Linked DNA regions of Homo sapiens: all the other regions are linked to region 3. Evidence: promoter capture Hi-C in human tissues and cell types (Jung and others, 2019). All regions are on one chromosome and are shown on one strand. The core of a region is centred on a gene start or on the middle of the fragment in contact, and the rest is flanking DNA. Distances in the headings are between cores, read along the strand shown. Region 1 has its middle 6.0 kb from the start of VPS45. Region 2 overlaps HORMAD1 (HORMA domain containing 1). Region 3 holds the start of PRPF3 (pre-mRNA processing factor 3).

Region 1 (3,847 bases), core at 1,109-3,608, 260 kb after region 3:
AGCCACAGTGAGAATATTATAGCTGAGTTGGCTTGTAGCATGACTACCAACCAGCTATCAAATCCTGTGCAGACTCCTTTAAAATAACGATCCTGAATTCATACTTTTTATTACAAATAAGTTCACCATTTGTAGCATTTTGAGATGGCCAAAGAAACTGGATTTCTGTATTGCAACCACTCCACAGCAAGAAACATTTCTTTTTTTTTCTTTGAGACGGTCTTGCTCTGTCACCCAGGCTGGAGTGCAGTGGTGCCATCTTGGTTCACTGCAACCTCTGCCTCTGGGTTCTAGTGATTATCATGCCTCAGCCTCCTCAATAACTGGCACTACAGGTGCCCGCCACCAAACTGGCTAATTTTTGTATTTTTAGTACAGGCAGGGTTTCACCATGTTGGCCAGGCTGGTCTCGAACTCCTGGCCTCAAGTGATCTGCCTGCCTTGGCCTCCCAAAGTGCTGGGATTATAGGCATGAGCCACCATGCCTAGCCTAGAACCATTTCTATCTGCAGAAACTACAGGTAATATACTCAGAGACCTGAGTAACTGAAAATTTAGTTAAATAAGATCTTTGCATTCCCAAGGATGAAATGATCTAGTCTGAGTGAAATTTTTGGTGATTTGAGCTTGTTATAAGTATAAGTCAGGGCCAGCCTTGGTGGGTCACGCCTGTAATCCCAGCACTTTGGGAGGCGGAGATGGGTGGATCACTTGAGGTCAGGAGTTTGAGACCAGCCTGATCAACATGGTGAAACTCTGATTCTACTAAAAATACACAATTAGCCGGGCGTGGTGGTGCATGCCTGTAATCCCAGGTACTCAGGAGGCTGAGGCAGGAGAATCGCTTAAACCCGGGAGGTGGAGGTTGCAGTGAGCCGAGATCGCGCGCCATTGCAGTCCAGCCTGGGCAACAAGAGTGAAACTCCGTCTCAAAAAAAAAAAAAAAAAAAAAGAAAGAAGAAGAAAAAGAAAACAAATGTATGTCAGGTTTCCCCCTTCACTTTTTAATCAGTTCTAGACCATTTTATAGATTAGCAGCTTTCAAAATGTAGACTGTGCACTATGGTAGTTTTGTAAGTTGCTCTGATATATAAAATAGAATGTGCTTTTGTTTAAGAGAGATTCCTAGCTAACACAGGTAGAAAAGAACAGTTGCTCAGAGTAAGACATAATTTCTTGGCAAAAGATTAGAAAAGGGAATTCGCTGAAAATGAAATAAATGACTAGTAAACATTCGAAGAGATGCTCAATGGTAATCTAAAAAATGCAAATTAAAGTCACAATGGAATTACCATTTCATATCCAAAAATTAAAATGTCTGATAATACCAAGTGTTGGTGAAAATGTAGAACAACACTTCATATATTGCCAGCAGAAGTGTAAAAATTGGTATAACATTTTGGAGAGCAATGTGGACATTAAAAAGCTAAAGATATACTGTACATACTCTTGTACTCAAAAATTCGTCCCCTTGGTATATTTCCCTCTTCCTTCCATGGAAACTCCCAAGGAAGCTTCCTTTCTTTGTTCCGTGAAAGGGCCATATGTGCAAAGTGGCCCCCAAATGCTGAAGGAGCTGAGAAGGCAAAGAAGGAGGCAGACAAATCCAGTTTGTCAGTTTTGAGTGATTTATTAGGGGAATGTACAGACAGAAATATGGTTCTGGGCAGCTGCATGACAGGTAGATCTCTGCATCGAAACCTTCCAGACCCAGGGCTTATATCTTAGGGAAAGTATATGTGATCTGGAAGGAGTATGTAGGTGGCTGTGGGCATCACAGCCTATGATTTCTGCAATTGCATCAAGTGTGGTTTAGGAGGAAACTTACAGTGAATAGAAGTTCTTACATAAAGACTAATACATCATTTAGACATTCTGGAGGCATTCCCAGACTCGGGGTTAGTCAGAAGTTACGTGGCAGATTAGCATTTAAAATAAAGTCACTCTTGTCCCCACACTTGTTATTAGGCTAGGAGTAGCCAAGCAGGTCTTGGGGCAGCCAGAGCCCCTGGGCAGGTCACTGCTGGCTATGAACAGCCTCCTTTTTTTTACCTATATGCTTTTCCAAGATTTCCTATGTGCGGTCATGAAAGGAATTGGAAATCGTTGCCCTAGAGAACTCTCACATGTATGTGAGACACGTATGAGAATGTTCTTAACAGTATTGCTGATAATAGCAAAAAAGTTGAAAACAACCTAAATGTCCGTCAACAGAAGAATAAATAAATAAATCATGGTATGATTTTATAACAAAATACTATATTCATATTTAGCAGTTAAGACAAATAAACCAGAGTTAAGGGCATCCATATGGTTGACTCTCAAAAAGATGGTAGGGGTATAGAAACAACATACATAGTCCTTGTAGAGTATGATATTATTTATATAACATTTGAAAACATGCAAAAAATAATAGTATATTGTTTAGGGCTACAAACCTATAGATAGGTGTATGAAGAAATGCTACATGTGGCTGGGCACAGTGGCTTACGCCTATAATCCCAGCATTTGCGGGCCAAGGCAAGAGGATTGTTGGAGGCCAGAAGTTTGAGACCAGCCAGGACAACACAAGGAGACACCATCTCTACAAATTAAACAAAAAAAATTTTTTTTGTTTTTTGTTTTTTGTTTTAGTCAGCCGGGTGCGATGAGCTTGAGGCTGCAGTGAGCCATGAACGTTCCACTGCAGTCCAGCCTGGGGGACAGCAAGACCCGGTCTCAGAAAAAAAAGAAAAGAAAAGAAAAGAGAAAAAATAAATCCTACACGAGAATGATAACCAAATTCAATTAGTGGTTATTTCTAGCATGGGAGCAAGTGGGATGCCACTGGGAACCAGAGCATAGGTGCTTCAACTATAATGCTGATGCTTCATTTCTTAAGATGGGTAGAGGGTATGTGGATATTCCTCATATTTAATAATAGCTTTTTGCCTGTCTTACTGCATAATAAATATTTAATCTGACTTTACTGGTGGAAAGTCAACCTTCAGCCTCAGCTTTGGGCAGAATTAATTGCTGGATAAACTGTAACCTTCGTTCCTTCAGTAAATACCTATTGCATATCTTGTATGTCAGATGCTATGTAAGTTTGAGAGGGCTGCAATAACGAAGTACCCCCAGACTCAGTAGCTTAAACAATAGAAACGTATTTCCTCAATAGTTCTGGTGGCTAGATGTCTAAGGTCAAGTGTCAAAGGTTGGTTTCTTCTGAGGCCTCTCATAGATGGCTGTCTTCTCCTGTGTCTTCACATGGTCTCTATGTGGTGTCTGTGTCCTAATCTCCTAATCTCTTCTCATAAGGACACCAATCATATTAGGGCCCACCCTAATGACCTCGTTTAACCTTAATTACCTCTTTAAAGACCCTTTCTCCAAATGCAATCCCATACAGAGATACTGAAGGTCAGGACTTCAACACAGGAATTTTGCAGGGACACAGTTCATCACCTAACAGATGCTAACTGGTGAATAAATCCTTCAGCCCTAGATGTCACCTAATAGCCTGAAAATATGTGAGATGAGGCATTGAAATCTCACTGAAGGAGTCACGCTGATATTACTTGTATTTTCTCTTTTATATGCCAATATTAAATAGGAACATATGGCCCTACTTCTATCCTGGATTTTTTTTCTCTTTTAAACTATCTTCTATTTCATGAAATGGTTGAGATGACTAAAAATATTCTAAATCAAAAGACTGCTGGTTTTTTTTGTTTGTTTGCAATGGCAAACAGATGTAATGGATCATGTAATTCATATTGGTCTGAACCCTTCCAACTTTTAGCTGAATATTTTGTATTTACATTGTTATTAAGTTTTATGTTTATGTTTTAAAATAATTTTAAAA
Region 2 (3,985 bases), core at 1,070-3,569, 390 kb before region 3:
TTTTTCCTTGTAACTGGCAGTAATGTCCTTTTTGCTTAAGTCAATGAAATAAAGTGCTGACATGAATTTCAATCATCAGTAATTTTAGTAGCAATAGATATTTCAGGGGATAGGGAAGCATATCTAAGGTACTGCATTATAGGCATTGATCTTATGCAGTCAAGATCTGCAATGATTATTTGTTATTAGGAATACATGTTGAAATAGGACAAAGAATTCTTATGATTCGTAATGAAAAATTATTTTATAGACTACAAGTAAGATTTTTGTTCTTTGTTGTATTTCAGCTAAGGATGGTTGTTCTAGCTGTAAGTATTTTTAAATTGTGTGTTCTTTTTTTAATACTGCCAAATTTGGCCTTGCTTAATTAAATGACACTAAAACTATCAATTGATTATGTCACATTATTCAAATAACTGATCTATTCAATGGAATGAAAAAGTAATATTTTGGGTGGTCATTTTTATTTGTTTGTTTTGCTGAGTTCACATGAAGTTTAGTCTAAACATCTAATTTAGTTCTTGAATACTTAGCCTTAGATAACTCAATTGTAAATTGTTTTTAAATAGGTATACACAAACCCAGAAGATCCTCAGGTAAGTGTGCTTGAGTTACTAAAGAAACATAATGCCTCTAATATCTAAAAATAACACGAAACATAATATAAGAATATCTTATGCTTTTAATTATGCTTTAATCAATATACTTTCATATATATTTTCACATTTGAGCTTCATAAAACTCTTCTGAGGTAAGGCAGGGCTTGGATTGTTACCTTTAAACAGATTAGCATGACAGAGATTATGTGACTGATCTTAGGCCACAAAGCTTACAAACTGTTAGAAACTTAACTTAAATCTCCTGACGTCTAATTCTTTATAGTATTTTTTATACTACATTTTAGAATTATGAAAGGGCTTGAGTTTTAGGAAAGTAAGAAAGTCATCCTTAAACTTCGAATATTCATCCCAATCCATTCATAGCTACCTATTTATCTTACCATTAAAGGAGAGAAGGGAGAACGTGAAAGGGAAAACCAGAAGATAAGAAACAAGGGGGAAAGATCTACTGAGTGCTTACTTTATATTAGGCTCTGTTCTTTGGGGCTTTATGTGCATTATCTCATTTATTCATCCCAACCTTCATGAGGTAACCACTATTAGCATCTCCGCTTTACAGATGAGGAAATCTAAGTACAAGGGGTTTCTTGCCTAAGGTCATAGTGGCTGAAGTGGCAGAACCAGGTTTTTGAACCTAGGAAGGCCAGTTCACAATTTGGGTGTTTACCCATTACGCTATAGCTGTTACAATATAACGTTTCATTCAGTCAAGGAGAGGTAGATTTAAACTGGTGTTAAAAATAGACGTTTAAAAACATCACTATGTAAGCAATGAAATATAAAGAAAGCAATAGAAGTATTCAGGCTTCAGGAGGGCTGAGAATGTGTCTTTTCTTTGATACTCACACCTGCGATTAATGCTTAATATGTATCCATGCTGACAAAGCAGATCATTTGGGTAAAGGCTGTGAATTAATAGATTGTGTTCAGAAAACTAATTGATTGTTCAGAAAATGTTCATTTATTTTCATATGTTATATAGTTGTGCATTTTTTCTATCAGTAAATTAGCAACCTTGTTGATACAATAATAATATTTATTGAATGTTTACTATATGTCAGGTACTTTATAAAGTACCCTGTATAAATTATCCCATTTGTGAATATTTATTCACAACTATCAATGAGATATGTACTGTCTTTAATCTCTTTTTTAGCTGGGGAAACTAATACTTAAACTAAGGCTTAAGTGGCTTGCCTGTGGTTACAGTATAGCAAAGATTTATGCCCTGTGTTAGCCACTCTGCTGAGGTATGTTGCCTCCCTTATCTGCCTGCTAAGGAGTTCCTTCCATGTGGTATAAATAACTGAAGGGGTGGCCTGCCCCTCCACACCTGTGGGTATTTCTAGTCGGGTGGGACGAGAGACTGAGAAAAGAAATAAGACACAGAGACAAAGTATAGAGAAACAATAGTAGGCCCAGGGGACCGGCGCTCAGCATACCAAGGACCTGCACCGGCGCCGGTCTCTGAGTTCCCTCAGTTTTTATTGATTATTATCTTCATTATTTTAGTAAAAAGGAATGTAGTAGGAGGGCAGGGTGATAATAAGGAGAAGGTCAGCAACAAACATGTGAGCAATAGAATCTATGTCATAATTAAGTTCAAGGGAAGGTACTATGACTGGACGTACACGTAAGCCAGATTTGTTTCTCACCACCCAAACATCTCAGTGGAGTAAAGAATAACAAGGCAGCATTGCTGCAAACATGTCTCGCCTCCCACCATAGGGCGGTTTTTGTCCTATCTCAGAATTGAACAAATGTACAATCGGGTTTTATACCGAGACATTCAGTTCCCAGGGGCAGGCAGGAGACAGTGGCCTTCCTCTATCTCAACTGCAAGAGGCTTTCCTCTTTTACTAATCCACCTCAGCACAGACCTTTTATGGGTGTCGGGCTGGGGGACGGTCAGGTCTTTCTCATCCCACAAGGCCATATTTCAGACTATCACATGGGGAGAAACCTTGGACAATACCCCGCTTTCAAGGGCAGAGGTCCCTGCGGCTTTCCGCAATGCATTGTGCCCCTGGTTTATTGAGACTAGAGAATGGCGATGACTTTTACTAAGTATACTGCTTGTAAACATTTTGTTAACAAGGCACGTCCTGCACAGCCCTAGATCCCTTAAACCTTGATTTCATACAACATATGTTTCTGTGAGCTCCAGATTGGATCAAAGTGGTTGGGTCAAAGTGGCTGGGGCAAAGCTACAAATTAACAACATCTCAGCAAAGCAATTATTTAAAGTACAAGTCTTTTTCAAAATGGAGTCTCTTATGTCTTCCCTTTCTACATAGACACAGTAACAGTCTGATCTCTCTTTTCCCTACAATAACATACATTACAATGAGTTGGGAAATAAATGTCTCTCCAAGACTGAAGCCCCAAACCCAAACCATGAAAACTGACTATGAGGAATCAAAAGTTTCAATGGATCAATAGGGATTAATATGGCAGAAAAAAGTATTGACTAAATGTTGAGTCATACAAAACAGAATATAGCTATTTAGCAGCTAGTACTGAATATCAGAAGCATAACTGCGATATTTTCTATTTAAGACAATTTCAGAATGTTACCAATTCAAATTCAAATACACCAATAATGGACCACTCATGGACTTCATAAGGTATTGTTCTATAGTTTTCTGTTTGTATTACAGATTACCACTTATTCATATTAATGCTATATAGCTAAACCTCAGGATTCATTCTGAAACTGCGGGGACATCCCCAATTAACCATCAAGATGTGGCTATGCAAAATGGAGTGGTGGCTTGCAGTAGCTTCAAGCCAGGATTCTGTGGCTAATAATAAGCAATTTTAATTGTGGAAAGAGAACTTAGGTGATTAGAAATATAGAAATATAATTTTAAAACATAATGTGCTTTCTTTAAACACTTCATATAAAATGCACTTAAGTAAAATTAAGTTATTATTTCTAGCAGATATTAATATTAAAATTTTATAATAGTGACATTAAAACACATGGTAACTTTCAAGTTAACAGCTTAATGCTATAATAGAAATAAGAATCTCAAATAGTTAAAATGTAAAGTTATGATATTAGAAGCCACAGGTTTTATAAAATAAATTAATATGTGATTCTCTTCTAGTAAAAACCAAAGCAACGAATCTAGCATGTTGTCTACTGACACCAAGAAAGCAAGCATTCTCCTCATTCGCAAGATTTATATCCTAATGCAAAATCTGGGGCCTTTACCTAATGATGTTTGTTTGACCATGAAACTTTTTTACTATGATGAAGGTACTATTTGCAATACATCCTGTTTCAGTTGGTACATATGTTTTATCATTATTGAAACAATTGGTTTCCATTCCAAATATTTTTAGCACCTAAATTTTTT
Region 3 (4,010 bases), core at 1,005-3,504:
AAAAAAAGAATGTTCTGTCACATTTCTCTGTGGTCATATTCATCCCAGTGGGAATTCTGCATACAGGTAATTATCATGTTCAATCTACAGGGTCTCCATCAGCTGACTTGATGATCCTTCAGCTCAGAAAAGAATACCCTCATTTTTATTTTGAGACAGAGTCTCACTCCGTCGCCCAGGCTGGAGTGCAGTGGCGTAATCTTGGTTCACTGCAACCTCCATCTCCTGGGTTCACTTGATTCTCCTGCCTCAGCCTCCCAAGTAGCTGGGACTACAGGCATGCACCACCACGCCTGGCCAATTTCGTAGTTTTAATAAAGACACGGTTTCACCATATCGGCCAGGTAATGCCTTACCTCAAGTGATCTGCCCACCTTGACCTCCGAAAGTTCTGGGATTACAGGCGTGACCCACTGCACCTGTCTCTACTAAAAATACAAAAATTAGCCAGGTGAGGTGGTGGGCACCTGTAATCCCAGCTACTTATGAGGCAGAGGCAGGAAAATCACTTGAACCCAGGAGGCGGAGGTTGCGGTGAGCCAAAATCATGTGCACTCCAGCCTGAGCGACAGAGTGAAACTGTGTCTCCAAAAAAAAAAAAAAAAAAAAAAAAGCCAGGTGCGGTGGCTCACGCCTGTAATCCCAACACTTTGGGAGGCCAAGGCGGGTGGATTATCTGACGTCAGGAGTTCGAGACCAGCCTGGCCAACATGGTGAAACCGCATCCCTATTAAAAATACAAATATTAGCTGGGCGTGGTGACCTGCACCTGTAATCCCAGCTACTCTGGAGGCTGAGACAGGAGAATCCCTTGAACATGGAAGGCGGAGGTTGCAGTGAGCCGAGATCGCACCACTGCACTCCAGCCTGGGCGACAGAGCAAGACTCCGTCCCGGGGAAAAAAAAAAAAGGTGTCTAAATGGGAGTCAATAAATTGACTGACCTCAATTTCCAAGCTCAGCTATTCCCAGCAGTGCCACTTATCAAAGATCTGGGAATCATCTTTCAAGATGTTTTAAGACATCTTTTCTCCAAAAAATCCAGTCTGATTAACTTCTACATTCTTGGTAAGTTTAGCCTCTATACTAGAGTCTATAAGACTTGATGCCAAATAGACTCACTTTTGGTATATCCAAAGGAAGCTAGTAGATTGAAGTGATGAAACTAAGACTGAAAGATTTTCTGCCTCAGTGACAAGTTACGTGAGTAATTCTATGGTGGTTCTATTACCCCACAATGAGTAGACATACAGCGTACCAATTTCTACATATTACACATGTATTGCACAAAAGCGGCATATCCAGATGCCATAGAAAGTGAAAACAAGAGTTCACACAGAAACAGTTGGGACACTGAGCCCCACCATTTACAAGCCCTTGGGCAAGTTAAGTAATTCTTTGGAGCCACAGTTTACCATCTTACAAAATGAGTACTGCCATATTTACATCCTAATTCATTCAATAAATATTTATTGAGTAACTACTAAGTGTCAAGCAATGTACTAGGTGCGGTGGATACATAAAACAGTGAGCAAAACTAACAAGAGTCCTCACCTTAACGGGTCTTATATTCCACTAGAATTGAATGATAGGCTAGAAAGTATAAGCAATTTGAAAGCCCAAAGCAATAAATGAGGTGCCACTGTTACCTCCATAAGATGACGTGCAAACTAAACAGCCAATGGATAAAAAAGTTTCAAACGGTAATTAGCCTTGTCACTAATCAAATGCTCAACAATAACTGCGAGGTGCGGGGGTAGTGGGGGTGCGGAAGGAAAGCGAGGTACAATGATCTCTCCTCTCAATGAGCAGGCAGCAGAATCCAAATCCAGTCTTCAGAAGGAATTCCTTACTCCGTGCTCTTGTTTGCTACAACCTGAGTTTCCCTCTGCAGCCCCCCACTCCCCCGCTAATCTTCATTTTTACTCTCTCCGTCACTCCAACCAGTCTCTTACTCTACCTTGTTCTACCTAAACTCCTCACCCCAGAGCTGGTCTCCCAACCCGGTCTCCTTCCCGCCCCCGCCCTTTTCCTCTCAACAATCTCATTCCAACCTCTTCTCCCACCAAACCAGGTACTCCTTTCACACTCCTTCCCGCTGAACCCTCCCGCTTCGGTCCTCCCCTTGGACTGAGTCCCCGGCCACAGTGGCGCGGACTGGAATTACCCTCTGTGGGCCCGGGGCCACTACTCACCTCACAAACTTCAGCCCCTGAGACGGAGCCCGAACGTTACACCGGAACCGGAAACCTTCTGACCGCCCTACGGCGTGCCGTCGCTACCGCCACCGCCGCCGCCACGCCGCTGTCTCCCAACACGTGACCAAGGAGGGCCGGGCCGCCAATTCGCGCAGCCGTATTTGCCACTTTCTTGGAGGCTGAACGCATGCGTCGCAGAACCGAAAAGTTTCCCTGAGCAATTTCCTTGCTTTCTATTTCCCAGGCTAAACCTATTAGCTAGATTTCTGCCAAGGTTTTTTTTTTAGCTTTTTTTTTGAGACGGAGTCTCGCTCTGTCGCCCAGGTTGGAGTGCAGTGACGCGATCTCGGCTCACTGCGAGCTCCGCCTCCCGGGTTCACGCCATTCTCCTGCCTCAGCCTCCCGAGTAGCTGGGACTACAGGCGCCCGCCACCACGCCCGGCTGATTTTTTGTATTTTTAGTAGAGCCGGGGTTTCACCGTGTTAGCCAGGATGGTCTCGATCTCCTGGCCTCGTGATCCGCCCGCCTCAGCCTTCCAAAGTGCTGGGATTACAGGCGTGAGCCACCGCGCCCGGCCGATTTCTGCCAAGTTAATGTCTTTAACTTCCTGAAGCGGAAATTGGGCTACTTGCTGTTTTCCTCATATGGAGAATAAGTGCGCAAAAGTAAACTTAGGCTAGAATGAAGAGCGAGGCTTCTGCGTTTGTGTTCAAACACAGCCTTTCTGGTAGAAAGTAAACCCTTTCTCCCTAATTTAACAGTGGTGTCAGGCCGGGCGCCGTGGCTCACGCCTGTAATCCCAGCACTTTGGGCTCAATAAATGACAAGTGAGACCTACCAGTATTGTTTTCTCCATTCTATCAATAGGTCTATATATTAACTTCTCTCCAAAATGAGGCTCTAACCTACTGACCCTTTATTTTTTATTTTTATTTTTTATTTTTTGAGACGGAGTCTCGCTCTGTCGTCAGGCTGGAGTGCATTCGGCTCACTGAAACTTCCGCCTCCCGAGTAGATGGGACTACAGGCGCGCGACCACCACGTCCAGCTAACTTTTGTATTTTTAGTAGAGACGGGGTTTCACCATGTTGGCCAGGATGGTCTCCATCTCTTGACCGCGTGATCCGCCCACCTCGGCCTCCCAAAGTGCTGGGATTACAGGGTTGAACCACCGCGCCCGGCCCCTACTGACTCTTTAAATCGATGATTCATAACAACATGTGTGTGGACAAAGATAGTTTGGAAAAAGATTGTCCAGTATTATGACACAATTTCTTATATGAGAAATGGAAAAAATTCCATTATTTTTATATTATAAACTATCCAAACTAAAGTTCCAAAATGTCTTCTTGGTGGTAGGCTGACTAGAAGATGCAGTTGTTCTTCAGGGAGGTTATTCACATTCCCCAGATAGTAGGAGATTTTTGTATCTAAAGATAACAATGTACATACCAAGCCCCACCTTCCCTGATGGGGCAGCACGACATAACAGGATAAAGCCTGGCTCTGAAGGAACAAGTTGGGGGAGTTTGAACCTACTGCTCAACTTATTCACAAATCAGTTTCCCCACCTACAGCTTCTAACACCAATGTCTCACAAAATATTCACTCAAAAAGTCTGTTGAATGGGTTAATGAGTTTCAACATTGCAGGGTTGTTGTAAATTTATTTTGTTTTGGTGCTTCTAACAGTCTGCGTTCAATTCCCTATGGAGAAATGTGTTTCTAGAAACTGGTTTTAGGCCAGGTGTGGTGGCTTACGCCTGTAATCCCAACACTTTGGGAGGTCGAGGCGGGTGGATCACTTGAGGTC

What was found. Contacts are between HindIII fragments. The study calls those that stand out against the background at their distance.
Region 1: a fragment that was not itself captured here is called in contact with the fragment with the promoter of PRPF3 in region 3 in 1 of the 25 tissues and cell types used here (adrenal gland).
Region 2: a contact is called between a fragment that was not itself captured here and the fragment with the promoter of PRPF3 in region 3, in 1 of the 25 tissues and cell types used here (heart left ventricle).

What each region holds. Positions count from the first base shown.
Region 1 is chr1:150,059,814-150,063,660 of GRCh38, reverse strand. It overlaps a transcript of OTUD7B not described here. Among named protein-coding and RNA genes, the nearest start is that of VPS45, 6.0 kb to the left of the region's middle. The HindIII fragment of the contact is 8,735 bases long and covers 1-3,847 here.
Region 2 is chr1:150,708,156-150,712,140 of GRCh38, reverse strand. It overlaps HORMAD1 (HORMA domain containing 1), which reads left to right. Exons shown (of 15, transcript NM_032132.5): 6 at 288-308; 7 at 570-596; 8 at 3,180-3,247; 9 at 3,734-3,885. Among named protein-coding and RNA genes, the nearest start is that of HORMAD1, 11 kb to the left of the region's middle. The HindIII fragment of the contact is 4,564 bases long and covers 38-3,985 here.
Region 3 is chr1:150,319,777-150,323,786 of GRCh38, reverse strand. PRPF3 (pre-mRNA processing factor 3) reads right to left here and starts at 2,254. Exons shown (of 16, transcript NM_004698.4): 1 at 2,195-2,254. RefSeq lists enhancers at 2,156-2,205, 2,396-2,445, 2,575-3,140. The HindIII fragment of the contact is 24,557 bases long and covers 1-4,010 here.